Linked DNA regions of Homo sapiens: all the other regions are linked to region 2. The links are contacts of gene promoters, found by promoter capture Hi-C in blood cells and fetal thymus (Javierre and others, 2016). All regions are on one chromosome and are shown on one strand. Each heading gives the region's core, a stretch centred on a gene start or on the middle of the fragment in contact. The rest is flanking DNA. Distances are from core to core; before and after follow the strand shown. Region 1 overlaps ZNF143 (zinc finger protein 143). Region 2 holds the start of AKIP1 (A-kinase interacting protein 1). Region 3 overlaps ZNF143 (zinc finger protein 143).

Evidence for each region. The method cuts DNA at HindIII sites, captures the fragments that hold promoters and counts their contacts. A CHiCAGO score of 5 or more calls a contact.
Region 1: a fragment that was not itself captured here is called in contact with the fragment with the promoter of AKIP1 in region 2 in 1 of 17 cell types (naive CD8 T cells); the score reaches 5.2 in naive CD8 T cells.
Region 3: a contact is called between a fragment that was not itself captured here and the fragment with the promoter of AKIP1 in region 2, in 1 of 17 cell types (fetal thymus). The highest score is 5.8, in fetal thymus.

The regions. Positions count from the first base shown.
Region 1 is chr11:9,527,336-9,530,035 of GRCh38, forward strand. It overlaps ZNF143 (zinc finger protein 143), which reads left to right. Exons shown (of 16, transcript NM_003442.6): 16 at 195-1,189. The coding sequence ends at 278. Among named protein-coding and RNA genes, the nearest start is that of WEE1, 45 kb to the right of the region's middle. RefSeq lists an enhancer at 2,321-2,700. The HindIII fragment of the contact is 622 bases long and covers 1,132-1,753 here.
Region 2 is chr11:8,909,741-8,912,440 of GRCh38, forward strand. AKIP1 (A-kinase interacting protein 1) reads left to right here and starts at 1,449. Exons shown (of 6, transcript NM_020642.4): 1 at 1,449-1,483; 2 at 1,704-1,931. The coding sequence starts at 1,710. It also overlaps a transcript of DENND2B not described here. RefSeq lists a silencer at 1,214-1,493 and enhancers at 1,584-1,653, 1,664-1,753. The HindIII fragment of the contact is 8,527 bases long and covers 1-2,700 here.
Region 3 is chr11:9,510,069-9,512,768 of GRCh38, forward strand. It overlaps ZNF143 (zinc finger protein 143), which reads left to right. Exons shown (of 16, transcript NM_003442.6): 13 at 2,380-2,528. Among named protein-coding and RNA genes, the nearest start is that of ZNF143, 50 kb to the left of the region's middle. The HindIII fragment of the contact is 2,474 bases long and covers 137-2,610 here.

The DNA.
Region 1 (2,700 bases), core at 193-2,692, 620 kb after region 2:
ATTGCATTGCATTATTCTCCCCTGCAGGAAATTGTTTTGTTCTCTTAATGTTTGAGTTAGCAGTAGTATTTTAACAATCCCAAGTGTCAGAATTACAGAGAGAAGTTTCACTTCTGGCATATAACATTTCTTTGGCATTTTCTTGACTGTGGCTTTTGAATTGTTAGCGTTTGATGTGTGTGTTCCTGTTTCAGCTTGGAGAACAGCCATCTCTGGAAGAAGCCATCAGAATAGCGTCTAGAATCCAACAAGGAGAAACGCCAGGGTTGGATGATTAATCCTCAGAACAATGGAGCAATAAAGCAGAAGGAGTCTTTCATCTTCTGGCAGCAGAAATCCATGAAGCCCGGGCCCAGGAAAATTAGAAGTTTTCCATTCCTGATACACTGTACACATTTTTATGCGAGAGTGGAGAACATTTTATTCTTGACACTTTTGTGTATATAACCCTTGGAATAGATTCTCAGAGTGATTCATTGTGTACAAGGAAGTATGAAATTAGGGCAATACAGTAAATTTTCATGTTACTCTTTTATCAGATCACAAACTCCTAGAGTCTACATGCAAGACTAGTAAAGTCTTATGGAGTCTTATGATGGATTTTTAACTTCCCGTGGAAAAAAAAATAAAGGCTGTATCTAAAATATCAAAGGTTCTATATGTCACACAATCGTAATTCCAAAAGCCATTATGGATAATAAAGGGTGTAAAGCCTTCAGATATTTCCCCAGTTAGTAGAGTGTCTGCGGTTTTTGTTCTACTATATGCTTGTCCATTTTTATTTGTATCTCATGGTTTGCAGACTGTTTGAATAATTTATAGTTTCCCATCCCTGTTAAAAACCAGCTCTTCAAGCTGAAATGCTAATTATATTGGCATTACATTGAATTATGTACAAAATTATAAAATTTGGTTATTTAAAATTAAAAAGTTAAATCCAGTGGTTTTGTTAAAGATTTTGCTTAGTATTCAATTTTTATTACTGTTTTTTAAAAATAATGAATCATCAAAGTTTAACCACAGGCTGGTGCCCGGGATAACAGTACTGTAATTGGAAATGGCTTTACTCTGAAAATTAGGTTAGTGGGTTGGTGTAAATTATTTATTTTTGCTTATGTACTTTTGTTTTAAAGCTTATTTACCCCAAAGTTTATTATTAATTTTGAATACAGCAATTTTTAAAATGTTACTTTTATATTTATTTATTTATCATATTGGTGGGGGGTTGGGGGGAAATGGTGCAGAAAATATCGCAAATGTAATGGAATGTAACCTAATACACATATTGAAAGGATGTTGTTTATCAAGTACAGAGTAAGTGCTTTTCCATATATTTTTATATATTCACAACAATTTTGTGAGACATATGGGATTTACTACCTCCGTTTTTTACATGAGGAAACCAAGAGTCCAGGAGGGAGGCTGACTGTCGTACCAGCCCTCACAGCTATGGAGAGGCAGGACCAAGACGAGAACCCAGACTTTCTGGCTCCAAGTCTAGTGTGTTTTCACTGCACCACAGTTACCTCCTCAAATGCTCATTTGTGGCAGAGATTATCAAGATGAACTTTGGTGATTTCTGATTGCCTAATGAATTGAGCAGTATAAAAACCATTTTCTAATGCTGGAAAATCAGCGTTCACCAAGGTCAAAAAAAAAAAAAAAAAGATGGTGTGTTCCGCAGCAGCCCCTCCTGCACTGTAGTTCAGCGAGCTTTATTTGCAGAGAGCTGAAATGTGGCTTTTTCATTTCAAGCTTTACAGTAGAAAGGGGAAAACGTTGTGCTGTTTGATTTTACATAAATGTTATCTTTGATCAGGTTCTATGATCTTGCTAAAAAGGATGGTGACTTACTTGAAATCGGAAGCCCTTCAGGGTTGGGCAGAACTTTTCCTGCAGAACCCTTTACAGATGCATAACATTAGCAAAAGCCCTAGTCAACCACCGATCGAGTCTTCATTCTTGACAGAGACACAGACCCACACAGAACTCCCCCCGGAAGCCCACTGAGGCTCAGAAAGGGGCTGTTGGGCGGGGTAGAAGACCAGAATCTGCAAAATCGCAGGCAGGGTGGCGCCCAGCCTCCCAGTGCTGGTCCTGGCTGCTGGCCAGGAGCTCCTCCCCACTGGGCCCAGCCAGGCTGCTGTACTTCCCAGGACCAAAAACCAAGCTGTCAGCCTCCCATGGCCCCTTAGATCTGACTTTGCTCAAATTCCAGGGTGTTTCTCTTTACTCCCAGCACCTTTGCCAGTTGGATTGGGCAGGGCTTAACCTGGACTGTTTTGGTTAGCCTGATTATCCCTCAGCTCAAAAGAAAATGACCTCTGGCACCCAGAGAAAAGGGCCTAGGGTCGCTGCTAGTTTAACCTGACCTGCCTTCTTGGGAATGGGGCCTCAGGAGCCTGGCAAGGTGGCCTGTTTCCTCCAGGGGAAGGGTGCAGTTGGTGTGCTGACAATTGCTAGGAAAGCTGCTATAGGGTCTCTTCACAGTGCAGGACATGGAAACGTCCAAGGTTGAAAAATCCCAAAAAGACACTTGAAATAAGAGTAAACGCTAGCAAACAGAACCAGGTGGGGCATAACCCTCTGGAATTTGATCCAGACAGTGCTCAAGGAAAACCTCTCCGTCCAAAAAAACCACCCTGCTTTGCCCCAGACAAAGCTTGAGGCCACTACAAAGAAAATGTGCCCTAGTCTGAA
Region 2 (2,700 bases), core at 199-2,698:
ACTCACCTGGTACCTGATAATTGCTCATCAAGCCATCTGTTGAGACTAGGTGAGGATGGAGTTTCTCTCCTTTTTCATGAACCACAGAGGAGACTTAAAGGAGGATTTATTTGTGTTCCTTAAAGTGACCCCCACTGAGCGTGTCCCTCAAAGTGGACCTTCCTAAGCATCGGCGCTTTGCTTTGCGCTGGGTGGTGCGGCTGAGTCACTAATTAGCAGTGAGAGCCTGGGCTGTATCTCCTACCAAATAACCAGCGGAGTGGAGTGACAGGTCCTTACTTAAACATGGTTTAAGTAAGCATTCACAGTTCCTTACTTAAACATGGTGCAGTCTTCCTAAAAGATGGAGTCAGACCCCAAGAGAACAGGTCTCCAAAAATATGTGAATCCGTACTTCCCACTGGAGGGGAGAGAGAGCTGCGCTGAGGGATTATGAGAGACCCTACAACTTCTCAGGCGCCCCCTGCCCCGGGGGCCAGGAACATCTGCAGACAGCCCCGCCTCCGTCTCGCCTCAATCCCGAGCTGTTCCCTTCTCCAAAGGCCACCTTGGCAGCCACACAGTTTGGCCTAATCACCTCCTCAAACAAGAGTAGCGACACCCCAAAATGTAGACCAAGCAGAAAGAGGCGCGGGAGGCACTTGCCTTATTCCCCATGATGTTTTTGTTTTGAGACGAAGTCTTCCTCTGTCGCCCAGGCTGGAGTGCAGTGGCGCGATCTCGTCTCACTGCAACCTCCGCTTCCCGGGTTCAAGCGATCCTCCCACCTCGACCCTCCCGAGTACCTGGGACTACAGATGCGCGCCACCACTCCTCCTACTGTGTGTGTGTGTGGACACGGGTTGTCGCTATGTTGCCTACCTAGCTGGTACCCCATAACCACTCCTGGCTAGTGTGTGTGTGTGTGTGTGGACACGGGTTGTCGCTATGTTGCCTACCTAGCTGGTACCCCATAACCACTCCTGGCTAGTGTGTGTGTGTGTGTGTGTGTGTGTGTCTACACGGGTTCTCGCTATGTTGCCTACCTAGCTGGTACCCCATAATTTTTTAGCTCAACAGGAGACCTGCCTTTATACCCACCAAGTTAAGCAGCGCAGTAGCCCTCTAAGGGCCAGCCCCACGCCCAGAGGCTCCTCTGACAGCGTGGACAGATGCCCTGGGCTGCTGGCTCGACTCAGTCCTCAGCCCCCAGCCCCCGACCCCCGACCCCCGGCCCCCGACCCCCGACCCCCGGCCCCCAGCGCCCGGCGCCCCGCCTCCAGCGCTCAGCAGTTAACCAGGCAACTCGCGCGCAGACGCCAAGGCTGGGACGCAGAAGGCGTGTTTGGCCGCCCAGCCGCCCCGCCTCCCCCACTTCTCCCGCCTCTCCCGCCTCTCCCGCCTTCCGCCAATGGCCCAGCTGCGCCGGCGCCGCCGGGAGCGCTAGGCCTGGTCCCTCTTCCTAGAATAGCGTTGCGCGCATGCGCCTTGACGAGTGAGCCGGGTGAGGGGGCTCCCTAAGTAGCGGAAGGGGTAGATGAAAATGGAAGGGGCGGGCGCGCTAGGCCTAGTCCTGGCTGGGCTCCCGCTGGAGTGTGCGTTGGGGGCGGACCAGGAGCGGTGGTCTCCAGGGAGGTCGAGGCTGGGGCTCCCACCCGGATTTGGAGCAGGGTCGCCGCGGCCCAGCTGACCCGCCGGCGTTTGTACGTTGTGTGCCCACTCAGGGAGCCATGGACAACTGTTTGGCGGCCGCAGCGCTGAATGGGGTGGACCGACGTTCCCTGCAGCGTTCAGCAAGGCTGGCTCTAGAAGTGCTGGAGAGGGCCAAGAGGAGGGCGGTGGACTGGCATGCCCTGGAGCGTCCCAAAGGCTGCATGGGGGTCCTTGCCCGGGAGGCGCCCCACCTAGAGAAACAGCCGGCAGCCGGCCCGCAGCGCGTTCTCCCGGGAGAGGTGAGGGTCGCTGTGCCGGGGGCCGCCCCAGTCCTTCGCGCCGCGGTAGCCCGCTGGGAGCCAGGGGTGCGCAGCGCAGAAGCAGCTGAGGAAACCTTCCCTTAGCGGAAGCTGGAAAGGATCAGAACAATGAATGGAAAAGTCCTTTCAAAACGCTTTACATTTGACAGATTCTTGTTGGGTAGCTGTAGAATAACGGTAGTGTTCAGCCCTGGTTGGTTACTTAAAAAAAAAAAAAAAAATTAGCCGGGCGCGGTGGCTCATGCCTGCAATCCCAGCACTTTGGGAGGCCGAGGCGGGCGGATCACCTGAGGTCGGGAGTTCGAAAGCAGCCTGACCAACATGGAGAAATCCCGTCTCTACTAAAAATACAAAATTAGCCGGGCGTGGTGGCGCATGTCTGTAATCCCAGGTACTAGGGAGGCTGAGGCAGGAGAATCGCTTGAACCCGGGAGGCGGAGGTCGCGGTGAGCCGAGATCGCGCCATTGCACTCCAGCCTGGGCAACAAGAGCGAAACCTCCGTCTCAAAAAAAAAAAAAAAAAAAAAATCTTACAGCTATCATCTGATAGTAGAGGAAAGCCTGCAAGCCTGTCTCTTAGATCCTGGATAAATTGCATGTCTATCTTTTAGAGTTGGAATTCTTTCTCAATAACATCGTTCTTTCTGACATAAACTTGCAGAGCCTTTCCAAAAGTAAAAAGGAGACTATTTCCAAAATGGCTTCATTCTCCAGTAGGGAATCCTAGAGCTAACCTGTGACGTGCCAT
Region 3 (2,700 bases), core at 124-2,623, 600 kb after region 2:
AAGTCTCTTCCTTAAATGTTGATATTTCAGGTTATCAGAAGTTCCTATATTCTTTTTTTTTTTTTTTTATTTTTGAGATGGAGTCTCGCTCTGTTGCCCAGGCTGGAGTGCAGTGGTGCGATCTCGGCTCACTGCAAGCTTCGCCTCCCGGGTTCATTCCATTCTCCTGCCTCAGCTTCCTGAGTAGCTGGGACTACAGGCGCCCGCCACCATGCCTGGCTAATTTTTTGTGTTTTTAATAGAGACGGGGTTTCACCGTGTTAGCCAGGATGGTCTCGATCTCCTGACCTCGTGATCCGCCCACCTCGGCCTCCCAAAGTGCTGGGATTACAGGCGTGAGCCACCGTACCCAGCCCAGAAGTTCCTATATTCTAGAAAATAGTCTATAATATAATAATATACATTTTATTTAAAAACAAAACTAAACTAAGATTGTTTTTCCAAGAATAGGGATGGATTTCTGTTTTCTCTCACATGATCCACTGGGTTTTGTAACCTGTTGGAATAATGGTATATAAATAGCTGTGGAACAGAACAAAAAGGAATGAAGTAATGTCTGTCATGGAAATTACACGTTGATGACTGTAGCCATATGAGTGCATGGATTAACCACTGAATTGAGAAGTACTCTTAGATTAGCATATTATGTCCTTTGAGGGGGAAACATTTTTTTTTTGCTCTCTTTCTGACTTCATGGGAGGTAGAAAGTGATGAAAGACGAGAGGGACCAGGAATCTTCCTGGTTGACAATTATAGTAGTAATGGATTGTTGAAATTGCTGTTTACTTACTGGTTCTTTATGAAATAAAGAAGTGATGGAGGTTCCTTTTATGTCACTAAATTATTAACCATACCTCAGATAATATGCCATACATTGTCTTTACACAGTGAGGTCATTGTGTACTGATGGTTTGCAATCAATCAGTTGTGCTAAAGACCAAGTTTAGTATCAGTGGGTGTGTTTGCAAACCATTCTGGCTTTGTGGTTAATGTTTATGAAAATGAAAATAGTCTTAACCACTTTTAACAGCTTCTTTTTTTTTTTTTTTTTTTTTTTTTGAGACGGAGTTTCGCCCTTGTTGCCCAGGCTGGAGTGCAATGGTGCCATCTCGGCTCACCACAAGCCCTGCCTCCCGGGTTCAAGTGATTTCTCCTGCCTCAGCCTCCTGAGTAGCTGGTATTACAGGCATGCTCCACCAGGCCCGCCTAATTTTGTGTTTTTGTTTGTTTGTTTGTTTTTGTTATTGAGACAGAGTCTTGCTCTGTCGCCCAGGCTGGAGTGCAGTGGTGCAATCTCGGCTCACTGCAAGCTCCGCCTCCTAGGTTCACACCATTCTCCTGCCTCAGCCCCCTGAGTAGCTGGGACTACAGGCGCCTGCCACCATGCCCGGCTATTTTTTTTTTTTTTGTATTTTTAGTAGAAATGGGTTTCACCGTGTTAGCCAGGATGGTCTCGATCTCCTGACCTCATGATCCGCCCGCCTTGGCCTCCCAAAGTGCTGGGATTACAGGTGTGAGCCACCATACCCGGCCTTGGTTTTGTATTTTTAATAGAGACGTGGTTTCTCCATGTTGGTCAGACTGGTCGCGAACTCCCAACCTCAGGTGATCTGCCCACCTTGGCTTCCCAAAGTACTGACTGGGATTACAGGTGTGAGCCACTGTGCCTGGCCTTTAACAGCTTTTTTTTTTTTTTTTTTTGAGACGGAGTCTTGCTCTGTCGCCCAGGCTGGACTGCAGTGGCGTGATCTCGGCTCACTGCAACCTCTGCCTCCCGGGTTCATGCCATTCTCCTGCCTCAGCCTCCCGAGCAGCTGGGACTACAGGCGCCCGCCACCATGACCAGCTAATTTTTTGTATTTTTAGTAGAGACGGGGTTTCACTGTGTTAGCCAGGATGGTCTCGATCTCCTGACCTCGTGATCCACCCACCTCAGCCTCCCAAAGTCCTGGGATTACAGGCATGAGCCACCGTGCCTGGCCTAACAGCCTCTTAAGTGAATGCGAGAATTTAGTGCATACTTGCTGTATTTGAAGGGTTATTTGCTAGTTTTCCTGTACAGTTCCTCCCCTCTCCGCCCCTAATACACATATAGTATCAAGTAATTACTCCAACTAAGAGAATAAAACAGGTCCCTGAAAATCAGAACACTTAAATTTGATGCAGAAAGATTTTTTGTTTGGTCTGCTTTGATGTAGTTTGCCTTTGCAAAAGTGGAGGTGGAGGAATTGGAAGGAGGTCCTGGAAGCCATTTTCGTGACTTAGAATATAATACATGTACATTTTAATTATGTAATTTTCTCTTTAATATTTAAAATGTCCTATTTTCTAAACAAATTGGTTGGTTGGTCAAATAAATGATTCATTTGTTTTAAACAGGTCAAGGTGAAGATGTTCTTAAAGGGTCCCAGATTACGTATGTTACAGGTGTAGAAGGGGACGACGTTGTTTCTACACAAGTAGCCACAGTAACCCAATCTGGACTGAGTCAACAAGTTACACTCATATCCCAGGATGGGACTCAGCATGTAAGTATCCACCAAAAGCCAAACAAATTAAATCTTTCTGTGAACCTGGGCTTGAAAGGCAGGCTGGGTCCCCATTGAGGAAAGCTTTGAAATATCAGGGCACAAAGTTTGGAAACCCTGAGGTTTTTCAGTAGTCTGCTTACAGAGACTACGTGCAGAGAGATTAGGAGAG